Regions from separate parts of the Homo sapiens genome. Here region 2 is linked to region 1. Evidence: promoter capture Hi-C in 16 types of primary human blood cells and fetal thymus (Javierre and others, 2016). All regions are on one chromosome and are shown on one strand. The core of a region is centred on a gene start or on the middle of the fragment in contact, and the rest is flanking DNA. Distances in the headings are between cores, read along the strand shown. Region 1 holds the start of NAA16 (N-alpha-acetyltransferase 16, NatA auxiliary subunit). Region 2 overlaps DGKH (diacylglycerol kinase eta).

Region 1 (4,627 bases), core at 1,434-3,933:
GGGGGACTGCCACTAGTACAGGTGCGACTAAGGCAAGCTCCTAAAGCATCTATACTTGCCTACTTCCTAACAGCTTGGGCAGCTTGGGAGCTCTGCAGAGTACACATAGGCCCTTGAACCCCCACTTTTATTTTTTTCTTTCCATTTTTTATTTTAGACTCAAGGGGTAAATGTTCAGGTTTATTACACAGGTAAATTGCATGTTGTGGGGGTTTGGTGTACAGACAGTCTTGTCACCCAGGTAATCAGCATAATACCCTATAGGTAGTTTTTTAATCTTCACCCTCCTCCTACTCTCCACCCTCAAGTAGGCCTCAGTGTCTACTGTTCCCTTATTTGTGTCCATGGGTACTCAGTGTTTATAATTCCACCTGTAAGTGAAAACATGTGGTATTTGATTTTCTGTTCCTGCATTAATTCATTTTGGATAATGGCCTCCAGCTCTACCTGTGTTGCTGCAAAGGACATGGTCTCATTCTTTTTTGTGGCTGTGTAGTATTCCATGGTGTACCACATTTTCTTTATCCAGTCCACCGATGGGCATCTAGGTTACTTCCATGTCTTTTTATTGTGAATAGTGCTGCGATGAACATACACGTGCATGTGTCCTTTTTTTTTTTGAGGCAGTTTGTTGCCCAGGCTGGAGTGCAGTGGCATGATCTTGGCTCACTGCAACCTGTCTCCCAGGCTCAATTGATCCTCGCACCTCAGCATCCCAAGTAGCTGGGACTACAGGCACTCGCCACTATGCCCAGCTAGTGTGTGTGTGTGTGTGTGTGTGTGTGTGTGTGTGTGTGTGTTTGCCATGTTGCCCCGGCTGGTCTCCAACTCCTGAGCTCAGGGTGATCCGCCTGCCTCAGCCGCCCAAAGTGCTGGGATTACAGGCGTGAGTCACTGCACCTGGCTGTGCATGTGTCTTTACGGTAGAACAATTTATATTCTTTTGGGTATATACCCAGCAATGGGATTGCTGTGGACCCCCAATTTTAATGACAGTACTTTCCCTATTTTAAAGGACTCCTATGATGCTTTAAAATCATGTGTGAAACGTAGGAGATTGAAAGAAAAAAAAAGACTCCTATGATTCTTTCATGTCCAACCAACTTAGGCTAGAAAGAAGGAAAATCAAATAGGCAGGCACTGTGGCTCACACCTGTAATCCCAGCACTTTGGAAGGCCGAGGTGGGCAGATCACCTGAGGTCGGGAGTTTGAGACCAGCCTGACCAACATGGAGAAACCCCGTCTCTACTAAAAATACTAAATTAGCCAGGTGTGGTGGTGCATGCCTGTCATCCCTGCTACTTGGGAGGCTGAGGCAGGAGAATCGCTTGAACCTGGGAGGCGGAGGTTACAGGGAGCTGAGATAGCGCCATTGCATTCCAGCCTCGGCAACAAGAACAAAACATCGTCTCAAAAAAAGGAAAATAAAAAAGGGCAGCCCAGTTCTGATTACAGCCGACTAAATGCAGTTACTCATCAATTACTTTATAGTCTCAGAAATATGCACCCATTAAGATTCAGCACATGTATAAATAAACTTATGTACCTAATGTTTACACACACCTTACTACTAACCCTACACTGAATGTATGGTTTATTCTTGCCACTGTTGTATCTTTCTAGACTCACACATTACCATCAATATGCTGCCTTTTATTTGTTGTAGAGAGTATCCCAGAGTTGGAAGATCCTGAATTTGAAGCCTGTTTCTCCCATTATTATATGGCTTTCAGGAAGGGGAACCATCTGAAGAGAAAGGGTAGGTAGACTCAGAAGACCAGTGGCCTTATAAAACCGTAATTCCGGCCAGGTGTGGTGGCTCACGCCTGTAATCCCAGCACTTTCGGAGGTTGACGCGGGGGCGGATCACGAGGTCAAGAGATCAAGACCATCCTGGCCAACATGGTGAAAGCCTGTCTCTACTAAAAATACAAAATTAGCCGGGTGTGGTGGCGCATGCCTGTAATCCCAGCCACTCGGGAGGCTGAGGCAGGAGAATCCTTTGAACTCAGGAGGCGGAGGTTGCAGTGAGCCCAGATAGCGCCACTGCACTGCAGCCTGGGCGACAAGAGCGATACTCCATCTCAAAACCAACCAACCAAACAAAAACAAAGATTGTAAATGTTTGTTTGGTTTGCCCTGGAAAGAGAAGGCTTCTACTTAGAGTCTGAATCAAGGAGGAAAAGGAAAGAAAACAAGTTCATCTTTCATCAAAAGTCTACTTTGCATCGGACACTTAAATTCCTAAATGGGGAGAAATGCAAAAAACTCTGACTCTTCAGAGTCATAACTAACATTATCTTGCGCCACAAGCTTATCAAGAGTGCAATACAAGTCAGTGTCTTCTCTTTTCTACTTAAAAGAAAATTCTCGTTTTTATTTATTACTTTATTGCAAGGAGAAGCAGACAATAAGTAGGAGTCTTATGAGGCGTTCTGATGCATAGGAGCAATGGTGAATGAGGGTGGTGACTCACCACCCCATGGGACTCCAAGGTTTTGGTGACAGCTCGCCTGAGCCCCAGGGGGTGCCGAGATTGCGGCGAGGAGAGCCGCAGCACAAGGCAAATCCACGCGGTTGGTCCCCGCTACGCCCCCGTAGTCACCCGCAGCCCCTCGCCAAAGGGCGCTCCGCGCATGCGCACAGGATCCGGCTCGGGAGGCGGACCCTGGCTGCCATCTTGCAGTGCGCGGGAACCGCCGCCGCCGCCGCTGGCCAAAAAGCGGAGCCCAGGGGAAGCGTGTCCTGCTCAGACCGCCTTCCTTCTCCATTGCCACCCGTGCCGAACAGCCAGGCTGCCCAATTGCAACTGTAGACCAATGAACTAATCCATCGCCCGCAGCCCGACTCTCAGCAGCGGTTCGTCCCGGTGCCCACCCCCGCGAAGCGGAGCGCCCGGGCACCTAGCCTCCCTGCCGGCCACCTAGCCTCCCTGCCGGCCACGATGCCGAACGTGCTGCTGCCGCCCAAGGAGAGCAACCTCTTCAAACGCATCTTGGTGAGTGGCCGTAGGCCGCGCTGCCGCCCCCCGGTCCCCGGGTCCTCGGGCCTTAAGGGCAAGCGGTCTGGCGGCGGCCGGCGCGGGCCAGGCTTGGCCTCCGCTGCCCACCGCTCTTTGTTTACCTCGGAGGTCGCGGGACCCCACTTTCCCGCTCCGGCCGGCCCACGGGGGCTGCCGAGCCGCTCCTCCGTGCGCTTCCTTTCCGCGGTCTTCTGCGGCTCGCCTCACCCCCGCCGCGCTCTTTCCAGAAACTTCACGCCGCTCTCCGCAGTGCCCGGGCACAGCCGCCTCGGCCGGTAGTGGCTGCCGTGCTCTCTGCCGCGCCGGGCTCGCAGCAGCCCCTCAGGGATCCTCCCCCGGTGGTTTATTTTGCCAGTCTCTCCTCGGCTAGGTGTTTTGCGTTCTGCATTCTCTGCTTTGCGTTTAGTTAGATTGCACAGCACACCCGCATACCTATTAAAGCGGGATCGATGCGATGGTGGAATTTTTCCTGGTTACGAGGAAATAAAACCGGCAACTTTAGGAAGCCAGGCCTGGCACCACCTCCCTTTGGGAAAAAGTTTGCCTGTTTGTAATGTACCTTATTTACCTCTTTGGAAGTGAATATTTGACTTGAAGTGCGTTTCTGAGTTGTCACCAACTTCAAAACAGCTGTTTGCTTTTTAGTCGCACAGGCCTTGCTTGAGTAATTAAAGCCGCGTGGACTGGCTGGTTTTGCATTTGAGGGGAGCATTTTTACTTTATCGCGGAGCAGAAGCCTGAATAATGGCCCCGTAGTGATGACCGCTGCGGAGCCGGGTGGGCAGTTTTCTGTGGGCTGTGTGCCAGCGTCCCTGGTAGCTTTCCAGGTTCTGTTCTTCCAAGGAGAAGAGGCAGCATTCCTTTGCTTTCCTCAGTATCCTCTGGCTACCCTAGGTTTTAAACTAATATTGTTAGTAGGTAACTGTCTTTTCTAGTTTATCTTTTCACCTGAAAAAAAGCTTTTATTTGCTAAACATGCATTTAGGTTTAAAGGTGAATTTATTGAAAGCTGGGTTGGCTATATGGCTGTTAGTTGTTGCTTAACTTTACTATAAATAAAATACTAATTTTAGAGTAATTTTAAGTATGAACAGCGGCAGATAATTCATAGTAGCTGTTCTGTTTCAAGACGATAGAAACTTCACACTTAGTCTTCAGATTAGGATACATAGTAGATGGGATAAAAATTTTAAATATTATGTGGTGCTTAGTTTTGAACCAATAATAAGATACAAATGTGAGAACATTAAAAATACGAATAATTAAAGCACGTGGCAGGTTGCTTCATTGGGCTTTGTATTTTTTTATTTTACTTCTCATGCCCTTTTATTTTACACAGCATGGAATTGGAGAAGTAATTTATTTATTTTTATTTTTAATTTTTTTTTGCCCTGGGAATCTGAAACATTAATGATAATATCATTTATAAATCGCTAGTTGGATTTCAGGACATTTGGCATCATACTTTAAAGATGACAGCACTTCTTTTCTCTTTATACGAGTTTTTTGTAGTTCAAATCATGGATCAGTGTCATAAGGAAAAAGTTACATTATTATTCTTAAATTACAAAAAAGGTAGGGTTTATCCCCAAATAAATTGGGAA
Region 2 (4,791 bases), core at 675-3,174, 800 kb after region 1:
CTTTGGAAGGCCGAGGCGGGTGGATCACAAGTCAGGAGTTCAAGACCAGCGTGGCTAAGATGGTGAAACCCCGTCTCTACTAAAAATACAAAAAAAAGTAGCCAGGCACAGTGGCAGGTGCCTGTAATCACAGCTACTCGGAAGGTTGAGGCAGGAGAATCACTTGAACCTGGGCAGCAGAGGTTGCAGTGAGCTGAGATTGCACCACTGCACTCCAGCCTGGGCGACAGAGTGAGACTGTGTCTCAAAAAAAAAGAGAGAAAAGATAATTTTGTGCATCACACTCCTGTGTGAATCTATTGCAATTTACAAATATGGCTCTGTGAGGACTGACAACATAGAATTGCAAATGAGTGAGCTCTGCTTGAGTGACATTTGGAGGAGCGGTTATTTAAGTCCAGCATTTAAGGGTGAGTCACGAGAGGAAAGGTCCAGGGCGGGGGTGTGCATTCTGCACCTGCAGAAAGCCACCCATATGAAGAACCCAAGGTGGGAGGAAGATGAGTGTTTTGTTTGGCCAATGGCAGGTAGACCAGAATGCCAGGAGCAGACACTGCAGGCAGTGGGGAGTGGGGATAGAAGTGATGTTTCAAGAGGGTGAAGCTGTGAAGATGAAACCAGTGGGAGGCCTTCCATGCCGAATTAAAGGGCTTTGCCTTGTTCTGTAGTTGATGAACAACCAATAAAGATTTTGAGCAGGGAAGTGACCAGATGAGATCTGCCTTAAGGAAACAATTCTGGAGGGAGGGAGGGAGTATGGAGGATTAATTAGACAGGGGGCTAGTTCAGTGTAAGGAAATACATCTGTTTTTCCTGTTTCTGTCCATGTGATTGTCTTGTGAACAGTGGGGGACTTTTGTGGGACTGTGGTGTTCAGTTGAGGCCTGCCCGGGTAAGGCAGCCCCGCTGTGAGTACAGGAACAAGAACTGCAAGGACAGATCGTAGACAGGCAAGCAGGAGGGCTCGGCTTCTTAGCTTTGGTGTGGAGACCTTGAGTGTGCTGTCTCTCTGAGCTTGTGCTCCTTGGCCTTTGGGGACCCCTGGTATGCCCCTGATGGGGGAGCTGAGACAGAAGGGTCCTAGAGTCTCTCTTTGGGCTCAGAGGCATGGAGGACAAAAGGGATTTTGTCCTATTGTCTAAAATGGTACTTTCTGTCTACTTCCCTTTTATTAGTGCCAACCTTTAGAAAAGTCTTGTTTGAGTGTTCTGTGTCACCTCTGCTTTATTACGAGTCCTTAAAAGAAGAGTCATTTTTCACACTCGGGCCAAACTTCAAGAGGAATCAAATGAAGAGTTAGTGTTGTGACAGGCAGGTGGTGGTTCTGGCCCTGCTCACCATCAGGAGGTTCTTTCTGGTGTGCTGGTCTTGGAAGCATTTCTTCATAGGGGGTCATTGTTATAGTCTAGGCAAGAATAATAAAATCACAAGCATTAGGTCACTGGGCACAGGAGCAAAAAGGAAGACCAGTTTTCAGAAACCTTTTGATTGGCAGATTAATTTAAGGGTGAGGGAAAATAAATTTAAGGGTGAGGGAAAATAAAAGATAGGTTGGGAGTTCTGGGGTTCCTAAGCAGTGCTTAGGAAAATACACTGCTGCTAGCAGGTGAGGTCATAGGAAGAGGAGCAGAATTGCCACGGGAAGGTGCTGAATTCATTTGGAATTCCGTATAGAGTGACTTTTACCCAGTGCCGTGTAGTTAGCTGCTGGCAATTTTGGAATTAGAATCTAGGTTTTCTGAAGCCAGGCCAGTGTCTTTTCTATTAAACTAAGACATGTGTTACGTGAAATAAAATGTACTTGAGTTTCAGGTGGTGACGGCATCTCTAAGTGGAGATGTCAGGCAGGCAGTTGTAAATGGAGCTGGAGTGAAAATGAGAATAAATACAGAAATTTATTTTAGGAGTTATGTATATATTTAGAGGAGATAATTGGAACTATGGGAAGAAGTTCATTCAGAGAGATTTGGCACATAGGCTGTAATTGGAAATAGCCAAGGGGTAGATTTCCTGAAAAGGAGGGAGTGGAAGCTATAATGCATGCAGTAAGGCTGAAGGAAAGGAAAGGACAGAGGCAGCGAGAGGATTCTAATTTTTTAAAGCGGTTTTGTCATAATGGAGAGGAAGGCATAGCTTGGAAGCTGGGACATAATCAAGAGGTGGAAAAAGTTGTTATTTTTAAAAATAAGATATGCCAACGGGAAGGAATGGATGGAGAGAGAACGATTAGAGATGAAAGACAGAGGGACTAGTTCAATTTAGTTTAACAAACAAATTGTAAGTACCACTGAGGTGATAGGCATAGTGCTGGGTGCTAAGGAGACAAAGATGAAGTAAACATGAATCTGACTTGGGGACATTTACTGTCTAATAAAGGACAGGAACGAGAGTAACACAAGACCAGCTGGTATTTACTGAGCACCGTGTGTCAGGAACCATTGCAGATACTTTACATGCATTGACTCACTGAGTCCTCACAACACCCCTATGGCTTAGTTATTGTTATTATCCATAAAGAAGCAGAAACTCAGTCACAGAAACGTTAAGTAATTTGTTCAAAGTCTTTAACAACTAGTCAGCCGTGGAGCCAAGGTTTGAACCCAGGCCGTACCTCTGCACCTCTGTGCATGATGGAGATGGACGATTACACCACAACGCAAAGGTGGAAATAAGAACAATAAACAGAAGTAGCCTAAGGGAGAGAGGGCTTAGATTTTTTTGGCAAATGATAGAGAAATATAGAAAGATCTCAAAGGAGGAATAAATGGAAGACAGGATGGATCCAGATGAAGGGATGCAAGAAAATGCTGTCAAGACCAAAGTAGAGAACCCATGTGCAGCTGTGCGTGCGTGCCTGTGCGTGCGTGTGTGTGCGTGTGTGTGTGTGTGTGTGTCTGTTGCTGTTTTTTCTAGTAATTTGCACAGCCTTCATCTCTGACCATTTCTTGGTTCCATGCTAACCATTTCTTGGTTCCATGCTAATCACAGAGGACACTCACATTTGATTCTCTTCATTTCTGTGAACAGTTATTAATAAGATATTTTTAAAAAATCTACTAGAACTGGGTTATCCTTTTTAGGGGTATCAGTCTGGTCCATCAAAATCATCATTGGAGTGGAGTTTATGATATTAAATATAACATATATATGTGTATCTATCTATATCTATCTATCTATGTATCTAATCTGTCTACCCATCCAGAGAACTGACAGATTTCTAACTGATTTCTGATTTCCCATGTAGTTGGGACTCAGATATTCTTTGGGGAAAGAACTAGAGAATTTCAGAGGCAGATTATTGAAGATGCAGTTGAAATTCCAGAAAATAAGCAGATCTTTTGCGTGAAATGCTGAGTAGCTCTTTCTGAGATAACTGTATGTGGTAGATGTGAGATTCCTGATTGTCTGTGGCTCAGCAGTCAGATGCCTGCACTTCACCCTGTTTCCCATCCCACCCTTGACCTTACCACTGACCCCCAGCTCCTCCTGCAGCCACAAACTGCATTCCAGGATAGGGGACATTGTAAGCGCAGCAGTCCTGTGAGACTCAGGTATGGTGTGAGGCTCTCTACTTTGCACATTAGTTATTAGTTAAAAAAACAAACGTGATGTCTAGTGGTTTATTTTAGACAACATCAGAATGTCCCCACATCAAAATAGTTGCATCATTGTGGCCATGGGGGAAAGTGGTTGGTTACATCAAAATGTCATGTGTGGGCAAAGGGATTATTCTTGGATGTGAGTAGGGGCATTTGATAAGGAAGAAGTAAATTCAGAATTTGAAGGATAATCATTCATTCATTCATTCATTCGTTGTTTTACCCATTTACAACACAGTTACACATACGACATTCAGGCATTTACCAGTTACGGGAAGGATTTGTGCAACTGAAGAAAAGCCCATCTGTGTTCACATTTGAGAAAGAAAATCCTAATCATTAGCATAGCACCACTGCCACCTTGTGGTAATGCATGGTAGTTCATTATATTTTATGAAAAAACTGTTATGTCTGGTATTTATACAGCATGTACATTTTGTACCTTCTGCATGTAACGGTACGTTATAAAGCCATATACTTTTACCTAATACTAATTTAAAAATACACTCAGTGGGGGGAGGAAGAGCATTAGGAAAAATAGCTAATACCTGCTGGGCTTAACACCTAGGTGATGGGTTGATAGGTGCAGCAAACCACTATGGCACATGTTTACCTACGTAACAAACCTGCACATCCTGCACATGCACCCCGGAACTTAAAATAAAAATTAAAAAAAGAAAAATACATTCAGAAACTGCTCTAAAGAAGGTACATATAAAAAAAGGAGAGACAGCTTAATTTTAGAAATTAATAAATAAATGTTCACAAAATACAGTCTCAAGGAGGTAATTACATCATTATAGATATTCTCGAGAAAATTATAAGCCATTGCAAGGGACAAAGTACATTAGCAATCACTAGATGGTTTACTGATACAGAGGGTGATTAGAATATGTTGGATAGGCCAGGCACAGTGGCTCATGCCTGTAATCCCAGTACTTTGGGAGGCGAGGTGGGCAGATCTCTTGAGGTCAGGAGTTCGAGACCAGCCTCGGCAACATGGTGAAACCCCGTTTCTACTAAAAATACAAAAATTAGCCGGGCGTGGTGGCACGTGCCTGTAGTCCCAGCTACTTGGGAGGTTGAGGTGCGAGAATCGCTTGAACCTGGGAGGCGGAGGTTGCAGTGAGCTGAGAGTGTGCCACTGCACTCCAGCCTGGGGAAGAGTGAGACTCCATCTCAAAAAAAAATA

What was found. Contacts are between HindIII fragments. The CHiCAGO score rates a contact against its expected background, and 5 or more counts as called.
Region 2: a fragment that was not itself captured here is called in contact with the fragment with the promoter of NAA16 in region 1 in 2 of 17 cell types (monocytes and fetal thymus); the score reaches 6.1 in monocytes.

Annotation. Positions count from the first base shown.
Region 1 is chr13:41,308,584-41,313,210 of GRCh38, forward strand. NAA16 (N-alpha-acetyltransferase 16, NatA auxiliary subunit) reads left to right here and starts at 2,684. Exons shown (of 20, transcript NM_024561.5): 1 at 2,684-2,999. The coding sequence starts at 2,946. It also overlaps a transcript of MTRF1 not described here. The HindIII fragment of the contact is 1,668 bases long and covers 2,313-3,980 here.
Region 2 is chr13:42,106,798-42,111,588 of GRCh38, forward strand. All of the region lies in intron 1 of DGKH (diacylglycerol kinase eta), which reads left to right. Among named protein-coding and RNA genes, the nearest start is that of DGKH, 61 kb to the left of the region's middle. The HindIII fragment of the contact is 6,038 bases long and covers 1-4,791 here.